2 separate regions of the Homo sapiens genome follow, and region 1 is linked to region 2. The links are contacts of gene promoters, found by promoter capture Hi-C in blood cells and fetal thymus (Javierre and others, 2016). All regions are on one chromosome and are shown on one strand. The core of a region is centred on a gene start or on the middle of the fragment in contact, and the rest is flanking DNA. Distances in the headings are between cores, read along the strand shown.

Region 1 (6,854 bases), core at 440-2,939, 240 kb before region 2:
AGCACGTGCAAAGGTCCTGGGGTAGGAATGTGCTGAGATGTGGCTGGGGCCTTGCAAGCAAGGGAAGAGTGGAAGGAGGTGAGGGCAGCTGGGGAGGGGGGTCACAGAGGCCATGCAGGGCCTTGTGGACCTCAAGGAGGACTTTGGCTTTCTAGAGAGGTGGGAGCCATTGGGAATCCTGAACAAAGGAGGGATGGGATCTGGCTCGGGTGTTCACAGGTGTCCTCTGGCCACAGAGATGGAGATCAGACTGTGTGTGGGGAGGGTTGCTGGGAGTGGAGGGTACTCCCTACCCCACCTGTCCCTTGCCTTTTGTCCACAGGGCTGTCAAAGCCAGAAACCTGAAGCTTCCACCAAGTGCTGGCTGCTTCTGGCCCTCACCTTGCTGGTTGCCTCCTGGCCTCCCTTCTGGCCTCCTGGCCTCCCTTCCTGCCAACTATGGCTCTCTCCCATGTAGCAGCTAGAGGGAGCTCATGCTAAACATTCTCACCCTGACATCTGGATCCTGACATAAACCCCCTACCTCTACCCCCATCCCTGCCACAGGCCCTGGCAGCCCCACGGACAAACCAAACAGACTCACAGTCACAAGGCCAGCCAGCAGCCTCCAGCTTCTCTCCATGTGCAGTTGTGAAACATCTCTCCTTCCTCCCCTTTGAGCCACCACCTTCTGTCTGACCTCAGGGCAGCCCCTCTCTCTCACAGATGCTCTTTCCCCTCCGCCATACCCCTCCTCCCACTCCAGGTTGCAGCTGGGAAGCCCCCGCCTCCGGGAAGCCTTCCCTGACTTGCACCTCTGCTGTGCTCACCATCATGGCAGGTCCTGTGGCCTGTGGCCTGTGGTCTGTTTCCACTCCAAAGTGTTCACTGTCCAGCCCCAAGCTTTGCACTCCGAGCTCAGCAGAGCAGAGCTGAAGAGTTCTAGAAGCTAGGGCCCGAGCAGAGGGCACAGAGGCGGGATCCCCCTGCCTCATCAGATGCCGGCAGTTAAGGGGCAGGGTGAGACCAGGAGACGGGGGCATGGTGCCTAGCAGGGCAGGAGAGAAGAGGCCCCGGGCATAGCGCCCTTAAGTTGCAGGTTCAAATCCAGGCTGTGCGCCGTCATGTCGGCACGACAGGACACCCACATCACTCCTCTCAATTCTGTCTCTCCACGGGGGAGCTGGGGAACGATAGCATCCCAGGGTGGCTGTGGGGGTTAGAAATAATTTTTGGCAATTCCACACATCTTTTTTGGAGCATCTTCTATGTGCCAGACACTGAGGGGCTGGGTACAAAAAAGTCGACTCTGTAGCGTACCAGTGTTGTGAAAGAAGATAAAGCCAGGAAAAGTGGCTATGAGTGTGTGTGGGTTTGGGAGTGTTTTTTTTTTTTTAATCGTATTTTTAAAGACAGGGTCTCGCTCTGTTGCCCAGGGTGGAGTGCAGTGGTGGGATCATGGCTCACCACAGCCTCTGAGCTCAAGGGATCCTCCTGCCTCGGCCTCCCAAGTAGCTGGGACCACAGGGCGTGTGCCATCGTGCCCAGCTAATTTTTAATTTTTTTGTAGAAATGGGGGCCTCGTTATGTTTCCCAGGCTGGTCTCGAACTCAAGCAATCCTCCCACCTCATCCTCCCAAAGTGCTGGGATTACAGGCATGAGCTACTATGCCCGGCTGTTGCAATTTTATTTTCTTTTATTTATTTATTTATTTGAGACAGAGTCTTGCTCTGTCATCCAGGCTGGAGTGCAATGGCATGATCTTGGCTCACTGCAACCTCTGCCTCCCAGGTTCAAGCGATTCTCCTGACTCAGCCTCCTGATTAGCTGGGACTACAGGCACCCACCACCACGCCCAGCTAATTTTTGTATTTTTAGTAGAGACAGGGTTTCACCATGTTGGTCAGGCTGGTCTCGAACTCCTGATCTCAGGTGATCCACCCACCTCGGCCTTCCAAAGTGCTGGGATTACAGGCATGAGCCACTGTGCCCGGCTGTTGCAATTTTCAACAGGATGATCAAGAAAGGTCATCTCCCCTGGAGAAGATGACATTTTAGCAAACCTCTGTGAATTTGAGGGAGGAGCACGCAGGTGATCAGTTCAGGAGAGTTAGAAGAGCGTCCTAGGCAGGGTCACAGCCCGTGCAAAGGCCCTGGGGCTGGACTGTGCCTGTATGTTTGAATAACGGTGGCAGCTGCATCGAGGAAGCGGGTCGTGAGCTGGTGAGGAGAGTGGGAGGAGGTGAGAGCAGGGAGGTGCCGGGAACAGACTGCGCGGGACTCGCCTTGTACTTTAAGCACACAACTGCTCCCCAAATGGGGCCGCCCCTCTGCCCAGCCTTCACTCCCAGAAGCCACTAGGGGGCGTTCTGGGGCAGGGTCGGCCAACCATGGCCAGGCCCCAGCCTGCTTTTGTACAGCTGGTGAGCTAAGAATGGTGTTTACATTTTTAAAGGACTGAAGAGAAGAGAAAAGAGAACAGGCCACAGAACCCGTCTGCGGCCCGCAAAGCTTGCAGGATTTACCATCGGGCTTTCTACAGGAAAGTCAGCCAACCTCTACTCTATTTTATTTATGTATATATTTTTTTGAGACAGGGTCTTGCTCTGTTGCCCAGGCTGGAATGCACTGGCGGGATCACAGCTCACTGCAGCCTTGACCTCCCAGCTCAAGTGATCCTCCTGCCTCAGCCTCCCGAGTAGCTGGGACGACAGGCGTGCAGCACCATGCCCAACGAATTTTTTAATTTTTTATTCTGTAAAGAAGGGGGTCTCGCTTTGTCGCCCAGGCTGGTCTTGAACTCCTGGACTCAAGTGATCCTCCTGCCTCAGCCTCCCAAAGTGCTAGGATTACAGGCGTGGGCCACCTTGCCCCACTGGCAACCTCTACTCTACAGCCATCACTGCCAACCCAGGACAATTCTGCCCCTGATCCCAGTATGTTTAGCAATGTCTGGAGACGTTCCGAGGTGTTACAACTGTGGGGCTGGAGGTGTCACTGACATCCATCGGGAAGAGGCTAGGGTGGCCTCTGAGCATCCTATAGTACAAAGGACAGCCTCCCACAGAGAATGATGCAGTGCCAAAGTCAGGAGTAATGGAAATCATCTGGGAAATCCTGTCTGAGAAAGCCAGCCCCGGACCCCTCACCTCCTCAAGGACAGGAAGGAGAATCCACCTGGCTTCCTGACCTGATCATTTGTGACCTGCAGGGTATTTTTAGCCTCTGAGGGAGGGGCACTGACTATTCTGAGGCTTTTTTTTTTTTTTTTGGCGGGGGGGCAAGGCTATTTTTGGCCTGGGCATCTATTTATTGAATTTTTATCTCCCCCCAAATTTTGGAACAGGAGACAGTGAAGGCAGGGGCCTTTTTTTTTTTTTTTTTTTTTTAAGAGTCAGGATCCTGCTTTGTCGCCCAGGCTGGAGTGCACTCGTGCAATCATAGCTCACTGCAGCCTCAAACTTCTGGGCTCAAGCGATCCTTCCACCTCAGCCTCCTGAGCAGCTGAGACTACAGGTGCATATTCACGATGCCCAACTATTAAAAAAATTTTTTAGAAACGAGTCTTGCTATGTTGCCCAGGCTGATCTCAAATTCTTGTCCTCGAGCAATCTTCCCACCTCGGCTTCCCAACATTCTGGGTTTACAGGTGTGAGTCACCACACCTGGGTCAGGTAAGACTTCTTGAACGCACACTGTGGGCCAGTGATGACTGCTGACACCTGGGATTCCCAAAGCAAAGCAAATCACAACATCCTCGCGCACTTGGATCCTCCTCACAGACACAGACAGTAAACAAACAAGCGCAGAACATCAGGAAATTACAGCCTATGTGAAAAGCCGTCTGCTGTACTGAACATCAGGAGGGGTGTGGGAAGCTGAGACTCTGCAGAAGGTGCCTGGGAGTAAACCTTACTGGGGAGGTGATATTTCAAGAGGGTGGGGGAGAAAAAGCCTCGCAAATATCTGGGGAAGGGTCCTAGATGGCAGAACAGCAGTGCAAACGCCCCGGGGTAGGATCACACTTAGCACACTGGAGGAGCAACGAGGAGGGAGGAGGTGGCCCAGAAAGACCATGAAGGGCCAGACCCCAGGACAGTCCAAGCCTGTGGGCTACTGCAGTCAGAATTTGGGGCTACCCTCGAAAAGGAGACACATGCCTTCTCCCCAACTCGCATGACAGGAGAGTTTTGCTTTTTTGTTTTGGGTTTTTTTTTTTGAGAATGAGTCTTGCTCTGTCGCCCACGCTGGAGTGCAGTGGCACAATCTCGGCTCGCTGCAACCTCCGCCTCCTGAATTCAAGCAATCCTCCTGCCTCAGCCTCCCTGGTAGCTGGGACTACAGGTGCACACCACCATGCCTGCCTAATTTCTGTACTTGTAGTAGAGATGGGGTTTCACCATGTTGGCCAGGCTGGTCTCAAGCTCCTGACCTCAGGTGATCCACCCACCTCAGCCTCCCAAAGTGCTGGGATTACAGGTATGAGCCACCACGCCCAGCTGATAGGAGAGCTTTGATGGAAACCCCATATGTGTTGCTAGAGTGTGAGCTCCATGAGGACAGGACGTGGCCACCAGCCCCCATGGCACCCCCCGCATGGTGCTGGGTGGGGAAGGCACTTGGCAAGTGTGTGCAGATTGCATGACAAGGTGCACCCAGCCTTGCTCCAAGAAATCCTGAGCACACAACTGCAGGTGCACAAAAGATGCAAACAGCTCCATGTGTGCACACAGACAACTACTCCTTCTTGCAGCCCTACCTCCCCCAGCATGACCACCCCCTCTGCAAAACACAAACACCAGCACACAAGGGACCCTTATGAACACCGGATGTGCCTGATGGTCACGTGGCCACATGCACCCTTGGCTAGATCACCATCCAGGCCACACAGGCAGAGGACACCTATGCACAGGTGGAGAGACAGACAGACATCTGGATTCTGGGGACACCGGGACCCCCTCCATGTTTCTACTTGGCCTCCCACCTCACTCCAGGACCCGTCTCTCCCCTTCCATCAGGGTGCCCAATAGCAACCACTTTGCCCCAAACCCAGCCTGGGAGGAGCTGTCTGTCTTGCCATGGCACCTTCAGGGTCACTGGGGTCAGGGTTTCAGACCCAGGGAACCCCCGCCTCGGGAGCCCCTCTCCCTGCCTCCCCACGGAGGGGCTGGAAGAAGGGGAAGTGTCTGGCATGTGGAAATCAGATCCGTGAGAGGAACCCACACAGAACCCAGAGCCTTGTGTGTCCCTGGCCACATGTCTCGCCAGGGAGGAAGGAGGGGGTGGAGGGCAAAGACGATGCTCCAGCGGGGATGGCAGTGCTCCCACTCCTCCTGTTCCTCTTGAGGGGCACCCGCTGCCACCCTCCCCACCGAGATGCCTGCAAGCATCACACAGCCTCACGTGCAGGTGGAGACGCCACCGGCCGGGGGCCCAAACTGCTGGATGCAAACACACTCCCGTGCAGCTGAGGCGCCTGTAGGCTCCTCCCCAACGTGCCCACAGGGTCCTACTAGGCCCCCCAGGAGAAAGGGCTCCCCTGGGCAGGCTGGGAATAGAAGCTGGGCTTCAAGTCCCCCCCTTCCACCCCCTCCCTGCAGGCTCCACAGCCCAGGTGTGCTGGTCCCCAGCTCTCCATCCTCCCCAACCCTGGGCGCCAGCTACACCCCCAAGAGCAGGAATCAGCGTGGGTGATCACGGGGTACGCAAGCTTCCCAGAAGTGGGGATTGAGATGGGCGCCCCTTGGAGAGAAAGAGGGCCTGCAGGGGTGTCCCAGGGCAGGTGCCACACACACATGGGGTGGACCGAGCAAGGCCATGAGGGAGGTCACCAAGCTGGGTAGGAAGATGGTGGCAAGACCAGCAAGAGGGCCGGGACCTACATGTGAGCGCACACGTATGTCGCACATGTATGTGGCTCCGTGCACGGGTGCGATCGCTGCCAGCCATGGAATTAGTTCCCTTTTCCGAATTCCAGATGATTTTTCATCTCTGTAATTAATGGGCAAGTCAGTTCTGAACGGCATGGCAGGCAAATTGCTAGTTAGGAAAATCACGGATAATTTTCTCGATATGATAATGAAGATTGTAAACCTTCTCTTATTCTCCCTGTTTTCATCCTACTTTTAAGTAATAAATTTGGCATTAATGGAAGGGGAGCAGGGAGGAAGGAGAAGTCACCTGCCCCCCAAAGCTGGGGCCTGACAGGGGCCCACGCAGAATCAATCCCCTGCCCCCGGGCCGTGGGGCAGACCGGAGAAGAGAATGAGGGGTGTGGACCCTCCGCGGGGTTGATCAATTCAGGGGGCCAGGCCCTGGAGAGCAGGTGGAGGGCAGGGAGCTTTCAGGCTGTGAGCCAGGGTGAAGGAGTGGGGTCTGGGGTCAGGTTAGGCACATGGCAGCCCTTGGGGTGTTGGAGAGAGAAGCAGAAACCAATGGTCTGTCCCCAAACAGCATGGAGGTCAACGGCCGGGAATATACATTCACCCTCAGGTGTGCCCCACTGGGTCCAACCTCCTCTAAGCAGTGACTCCCTACCAGGATAAGGGAGCCGGGCAAGCAGAGAGGGGAAGAGAGAGAGAGAGATATAGAGAAAGACAGAGAGCGAGAGAGAGACAGCGAGAGAGAGAGCGCGAGACAGCGAGACAGCCATCTTGGCAGCCATTTTGAACCCCTCCCCCTCCTGCCCCCAGGCACACATGTTGGGATGTGGGATGTGGGAAGACAGACCCCAGCTCTGAGTCTAGTGGAAGCCAGGCGGAAGAGGGGGGCCCTGCCTGGAACTGGGATACAGAAACCCCCACGCAGCTGCCATGGCTGGGGGTGGATGGGGGTTGGAACAGGAAGAAAGGGTCCAGGCAGGTACAGTGAGGTG
Region 2 (7,144 bases), core at 2,529-5,028:
AGGTCAAGTTCATTTTCCAGCTGTCGAGCCTGTTTCCTGAGATCTTTAACAAAATTATAACAACAAATAATTAGACATAAAAAGTAGACACAAAAATCACAGCACCATTCTAAAGAAAACAAACTATGAAAATGATCATATACTGATCTTGTTACCCCCATAAAGAAAAGTGTTGGCTGGGCACGGTGGTGCACGCCTGTAATCCCACCACTTTGGGAGGCCAAGGTGGGCGGATCACCTGAGGTCGGGAGTTTGAGACCAGCCTGATCAACATGGAGAAACCCTATCTCTACTAAAAATAGAAAATTAGCCAGGTGTGGTGGCGCACGCCTGTAATCCCAGCTACTCGGAAGGCTGAGGCAGGAGAATCGCTTGAACGCAGGAGGCAGAGGTTGCGGTGAGCCAAGATTGCGCCATCGTACTCCAGCCTGGGTAACAAGAACAAAACTATGTCTCAAAAAAAGGAAAATAAAAGTCTTAAAAGAAGGAAACCAAGGACTTGCCCAGCAAAGCAGATTAGTCACTTATAAACTTCAGAGGGGGCAAGAAGGGAAATAGTAATGGTAGATGCAACTTCGCAGCTTTACTCCAAAGATGGCTAGAAAACAAATGTTGTTCTATCCTTCCTGAAACTATTTGTATAGCAATAACTAAAATTCTGCAATTCAGAGAAAAACAAGAAGATAATACAAATCACAAAGGAACTAAAAATATGGTTTATGACCAGCATTATCAACTTACCAGTTAATGTTATAAGAAAGAAGCCATTATTCTTTTGAAAGGGATTTTGCTTTTTATGTTCCAAAGCTTTATTAGGCTTATGAACTTCTTTTCATAATAGCAAAATGACTTACCTTTTTTTTTCTTTTTTTTTTTGAGATGGAGTCTCGTTCTGTCACCCAGGCTGGAGTGCAGTGGCATGACCTTGGCTCACTGCATACTCCACCTCCTGGGTTCAAGCAACTCTCATGCCTCAACTACCTCCCAAGTAGCTGGGACTACAGGCACACACCACCATGCCTGGCTAATTTTTGTATTTTTAGTAAAGACGGGGTTTCACCATGTTGGCCAGGGTGGTCTTTAACTCCTGACCTCAAGTGATCCACCCACCTTGGCCTCCCAAAGTGCTAGGATTACAGGTGTGAGCCACCACGCCCGGACCAAAATGACTTCTCAATTGAACATAAAGAAAAAAAGTTACCACAAAAATTGCCTTTTTCTTTCTTTTTTTCTTTTCTGTTTTTTCTCACAATGTTGCCCAGGCTGCTCTCGAACTCCTAAACTCCAGTGACCCTCCTGCCTGGGCCTCCAAAAGTGCTAGAATTACAGGCATGAGACATCGCACCTGGCCAAAAACCGCCTTTAAAAAACTTACTGAGGCCAGGCGCAGTGGCTCACGCCTGTAATCCCAGCACTTTGGGAGGCCGAGGCAGGCGGATCATGAGGTCAGGAGATCAAGACCATCCTAGCTAACACGGTGAAACCCTGTCTCTATTAAAAATACAAAAAATTAGCCAGGCGTGGTGGTGGGCGCCTGTAGTCCCAGCTACTCAGGAGGCTGAGGCAGGAGAATGGCGTGAACCTGGAAGGCACTGGAAGGCAGAGTTTGCAGTGAGTGGAGATTGAGCCACTGCACTCCAGCCTGGGCGACAGTGCGAGACTCCATCTAAAAAAAAGAAAAAAACTTACTGAAAGTAATTTGGAGGGCTAAAACTAACAATAAACAATGTGCTACTAACAAGGTCGAATATGAGTATGATAGAAATAAGTACATAAGTTTTAATAGCAGAAGCAAACAGGCAAGTAGAGAAATTGGTTTAGCAGTCTGGCATCTAAGGGTTGCGTGACAGAAGCCACAGTCTGGACACCCACACACAGATACGAGTATTCTCATTCATGGTGAAGTGAAGGTTAAAATAAAAGGGCAGAAGTACCAGAGGTAATGGTATAAGAATCTCTCTTTCAAAAAGAATACAAAACATTATTTCAATATGCTTTTCAACCAGAAATAGAAAGCGTAGTTAACATAGTGGAGCATATTTGCCCAGAGACCAAATGCCAGTTCGAATCTCGGCACAGCCACTTACTGACTCTATGATTTATCAACAATCTACTTAACCTATGAACTTCAGCTTCTTGTTTTTTAAACCCCTACCTTCAGGGTTTGCTTATGTATTGGTAATCATATGCTTACAGCAGCTGGCACAGAGTAGGTTGTCAGTAATGAGCCGCTGTAATATTATAGCATGCTGCTTCAAAAAACCACAGGCTAATGACTAGTAATAAAGATATCAGTAGCCTCTTCTACATAATTTTAAAATGTTTTCTAGCGGCCAGGCGCGGTGGGTCACACCTGTAATCCCAGCACTTTGGGAGGCAGAGGCGGGCGGATCACGAGGTCAGGAGATCAAGAACATCCTGGCCAACATGGTGAAACCCCGTCTCTACTAAAAATACAAAAATTAGCCAGGCGTGGTGGCATGCATCTGTAGTCCCAGCTACTAAGGAGGCTGAGACAGGAGAATCGCTTGAACGCAGGAGGCGGAGGCTGCAGTGAGCCGAGATCGATAGCGCCACCGCACTCCAGCCTGGGCGACATAGCGAGTCTCCAAAAAAAAAAAAAAAAAAGTTTTCTAGCTGGTACACACATTTCAAATGGGCATTGTAATACATGTTTTAAACTATAAGCACGCTTTTCTGTGATTGGAATAATTGTCTTCTCTAGTAGGAAACATAAGTAAAAGCATTTTGAAAGTATGATAGGCAAATCTGGATAAATTTAGAATTGAGTTTCTTAGACCAAGGGGCTGATAGTGACAATACTGTGGTTTCTAGAGGCTTCAGTGTATAGCAATAAAAACAGGTCAAAGGAATTTGGAAAGTAGTTTCTATGCGGCTGTAAAGCAAAGAGACAGTTGGGAGAAAAAGGTGAGCTTTCTCTGCTCTTGTTGATCATCATAATCCACGAATGAGTTTTATGTAAGCTCACTTTATCCGACTATAGTTTCAGGAATTAAACAAATGCATTTGTCAAATCACAGGAAGGTTTTTTTGGTGGGAGAAGTATAGCAAATGTAACTGCAATTCACACAGGTTCTCTCAACTTTTTCAATAAAACCGATTCTAGACTCTAGAGCAGAAGGGTAAGTTATTTTCTCCTCCTTCAAACACCCAGTCCTGGAAGTCCCCAACCTGTAGTTGTCATGGAGACCCAATAAGAGACATTCTGTCTCCTATTCTCTTCATACTTCCTCCGACGGACCGGAATGCAAGTTCCTCCTTCTCTTTTCCCACTCAGTTTTCCAATAGTGACCTCAGCTCCAATGCGCTGACTCCTCCAGTCTCCGGGGCTCTGGATCTTCTCCCTCAACATTCGTTTCCTCTCAGAGTTCGTACCCCAAGCCCCTTCGTCCGAGTTCCATTACTCCCTCAACACAATTCTACCCAGGCGATTGAGAGCCCTCTTCCTCTACATCCCCGCTCTGTCCACTCTGCCCAACCCCTGCCCCACGTCCCGCTCACACGCCCCGGCCAGGCCAGACCCCTACCCCAGACCGTTCGGTATCCCCAAGGCCCCGGGGATCCCACTTAGGCAAGCCCCGCTGCTCAGCTCGGCCGCTCCGGGAGTCTGGTTCTTTCCTGTGCTGCTTCTCCCAAGATCTGTCCTCACTCAGCCCCTCTCACCCTCGTAGGACGCACCCGGAGGCCTTCTCGCCCTCACCTTCCCAGTAACTGCTGGTCCCTGCCGCCATCTTTGTCGTCCAACGTCAGCCGGGATAGGGGAGCAGAGGCGATGCAGGCCGGAAAGTCACCATGGTGCGTGTTTCCGCCTTGAGAGCCAGGGCCGACGGGATGCGAGCCTCCGCGGACACTGCCACCTGCTGATCAATTCGTTATCTTACAGCTTTTAAGTAGCGAGAGAGAAAAAACTTCGGCTTTAGCTCCTGTCTTTCATTCCCGCTTTCTGCGCCCCAAACCATCATCATCTCCCTCATCTCGGCTTATCCTTTCTCTCAGCAGGTGCCTACTTGACTGGGAGGAGAATCATCCTCAGGCAACTCCCTCAATTTCCCTCACCTTGTCTCTAATTTGTATCTTCAGCCAATTTCTTCCTTTCTCAGACATAGAGACCCTTTCTTCCCAGAGCCATTTCCTTCATCCTACCTCCCCGCCTGTGCTCCATCATCCACGTTCTTTGGCGTATGCGCTCTTCTCCACTGGCTGCTTTCCTTGTCTACAGCAGTTCTAGTCCCAGCCCTCTTTGTCCTTGTCAGCCGCCACATCTAGAAAGAGTGAGCTAACTGCTTCTACATGCTCTCGGCCTGAGCCCTCAACCTGATAAAATCTGCTGTCCAAACCCACACTTTATAGATACATAAATTATCACAGTCTACCGGTGCTGACTTAATTCTAGTGAAGTGTAGAAACCTTAATTCCTGTAAAGTTCTTTCCCCCACTCATTTATAATATAGTTGTTTTTAAGTATTTCCTCTGCATTCATTGAGGAGAACCACATCAGTGTTACAATATTTGCTTCAAGGGTCAGGCATAAGTTAGAGAATTCAAGAGAAGAGGAAAGCTTACTTGATTTATGCATATTTTACTCTTCTTCGTTCCTAGTGTCCCAAGATTCCTTTTTCTAATCGTTTCCTTTCTGTTTCAAGAATTTCCCTCAGCCATTTTTTTTTTAAAGAGTAGATCAGCTGGTGACAAATTCTATTAGTTTTTCTTCATCTGAGAATGTCTTGATTTCCCTTCATTCTTGGGGGATCGGATATTGTTGCCAGATATACAATCTGAAGTTGACAATTTCTTTCTTCAGCACTTGAAAAATGTGCCAATTCCTTCTGGCCTCCATAGTTTCAGATAAGAAATTGACTAAAATTGGAATTGTTTTTCCACTGTAGCTAAAATACATTTTCTCTCTCACTGCTTTCAAGAACTGTTCTTTAGTTTTCAGAAGTTATGATGTGCCTTGGTGTAGATTTCTTTGGATTTATCCTGTTTGGGATATCCTCAGCTTCTTGATTCTGACATTTATGTCTTCTGCCAAATTTGGGGGATTCTCAACCATTGTTTCTTCCAATACTTTTTCTGTCTCATACTGTTTCTCTTCTTTTTCTGGGAGTCTGATGACGTGAATGCTAGATCTTGTGTTAATGTCCCACATAGCTCTGAAGTTATGCTAATTTTTTTTCAGTCTATTTTCCATCATTCGGATTTGGTACTATCTACTATTCTGTCTTCAGATTTGCTGACAGAAAGTATGTCTTTCCTCTGTTCCCTCCATTCTGCTGTTGAGCCTATTCGTTGAGTTCATGTCAATTATTGCATTTTTCGTATCTAAAACTTCTGTTCAGTTCCTCATTATATCTTCTGTTTCTTTGCTGAGACTCGTTTTATCATTTGTTCTAAGTTTGTTTGTAATTGCTCACTAAAGTATTTTTATTAGAGCTGCTTTAAAGTCCTCATCAGATAATTCCAACATCTGTGTCATCTTGATGTTGGGGTCTGTTGTCTTTTTTTCACTCAAGTCGAAGTTCTCTGGGCTATTGGAATGACAATTTTTATAAATTGTATCCTGATGTTTCAGGTATTTGTTATGAGATTCTGATCTTATTTATGTCTTCTGTTTAAGCAGACTTCCTCTGACACTATGCTGCTGGGGGACATAGGGAAATGCTTGCTACTTCCAGGTGGCAGTGGAAGTTCAGGCTCTCCCTTGGCCTTCACTGATTCCCCAGGGAGGGGGTGCCTTGTTACTGCTCCGCATGTGGTCCCCACTGCCACCATGGCAGGGAGCCTCATTGCTGCTGTGCAATGGACGAGAAGTCCAAGTGGGGGATGGGTGGAGTGCTTCATTAGAGCCAGGTGAGTGTGGAAGCCTAGCCTCCTCACTCAGCCTTTGATGGCAAGGAGTGAAGATGGGCCTCAGTTTTTTCTGTGGCATTTGTCCAGAGTGGTGAAATTATTGTCCAAAAGTATTCTGTCTTGTTAGGATACCTGTTTCCTCATCCCTTGTCTGGAGAGAGAAGGCTTTCCATTTTCCTTTGGACTTTTCTTGTCTGCACCCTTTGGCATTTCTAGGTTGCCAGTTTCTCCAGCACCCAGTATAGGACATAGGAAACAAAAAGGAAACCCAGGGAACTCACCTTCATGTTCTTTACATTCTGAGGTCCTTAGCTGGTCTGCCTTCTTCTTTCCACCTTTTTGAGTCTTTTTAAAAATATATATATATGATTTTTTTTTTTTTTGCTGTGCTTAGTGGGAAAAATAGAAAGAAATACAGCTAATCCATTTTGTCCAGAAGTGAAATTGTTGATTTAATTTTTAAATGTTTTAATTATCGGGCTGGATGTAGTGGTTCATGCCTCTAATCCCAGCACTTTGGGAGGCTGAGGTGGTAGGATTGCTTGAGTCCAGGAGTTTGAGGCCAGCCTGGGCAACATAGTAGGACCTCATCTCTACAAAAAATTTAAACATTAGCCAGGCGTGGTGATGCGCCCTATAGTCCCGCTACTCAAGAGGCTGAAGTGGGAGGATTGCTTGAGCCCTGGAGGTCAAGGCTGCAGTGAGCCATCACCACACCACTGCACTCCAGCCTGGGTGACAGAGTAAGACCCTGTCTTAAAAAAAAAAACCTGCTAAAATTCTTCATCTTGTCTTCTACTTTCTTGAATTCATTCATCATCATTCTTTTTTTTTTTTTTTTTTTTTTGAGACAGAGTCTTGCTCTGTCGCCCAGGCTGGAGTGCAGTGGCACGATCTCGGCTCACTGCAACCTCCACCTCCTGAGTTCAAGGATTCTCCTGCCTCAGCCTCTCAAGTAACTGGGATTACAGGTGCCTGCCACCACACTGGCTAAGTTTTGTATTTTTAGTAGAGATGGGCTTTCACCATATTACCTGGGCTGGTCTCGAACTCCTGACCTTGTGATCCTCCCACCTCAGCCTCCCAAAAGTGCTGGGATTACAGGTATGAGACACTGCGCCCGGCTTTTTTTTTTTTTTTTTTTTTTTTTGAGACGGAGTTTCGCTCTTGTCACCCAGGCTGGAGTGCAATGGCGTGATCTCAGCTCACTGCAACCTCCGCCTCCTGAGTTCAAGTGATTCTCCTGCCTCAGCCTCTCGTGTAGCTGGGATTA

What was found. The method cuts DNA at HindIII sites, captures the fragments that hold promoters and counts their contacts. A CHiCAGO score of 5 or more calls a contact.
Region 1: a fragment that was not itself captured here is called in contact with the fragment with the promoter of GOSR1 in region 2 in 1 of 17 cell types (endothelial precursors); the score reaches 5.7 in endothelial precursors.

What each region holds. Positions count from the first base shown.
Region 1 is chr17:30,710,785-30,717,638 of GRCh38, reverse strand. It overlaps the pseudogene SUZ12P1. Among named protein-coding and RNA genes, the nearest start is that of CRLF3, 110 kb to the left of the region's middle. The HindIII fragment of the contact is 1,609 bases long and covers 885-2,493 here.
Region 2 is chr17:30,474,042-30,481,185 of GRCh38, reverse strand. GOSR1 (golgi SNAP receptor complex member 1) reads right to left here and starts at 3,778. Exons shown (of 9, transcript NM_001007025.2): 1 at 3,722-3,778; 2 at 1-43. The coding sequence starts at 3,752. RefSeq lists enhancers at 3,515-3,734, 3,885-4,034. The HindIII fragment of the contact is 3,772 bases long and covers 810-4,581 here.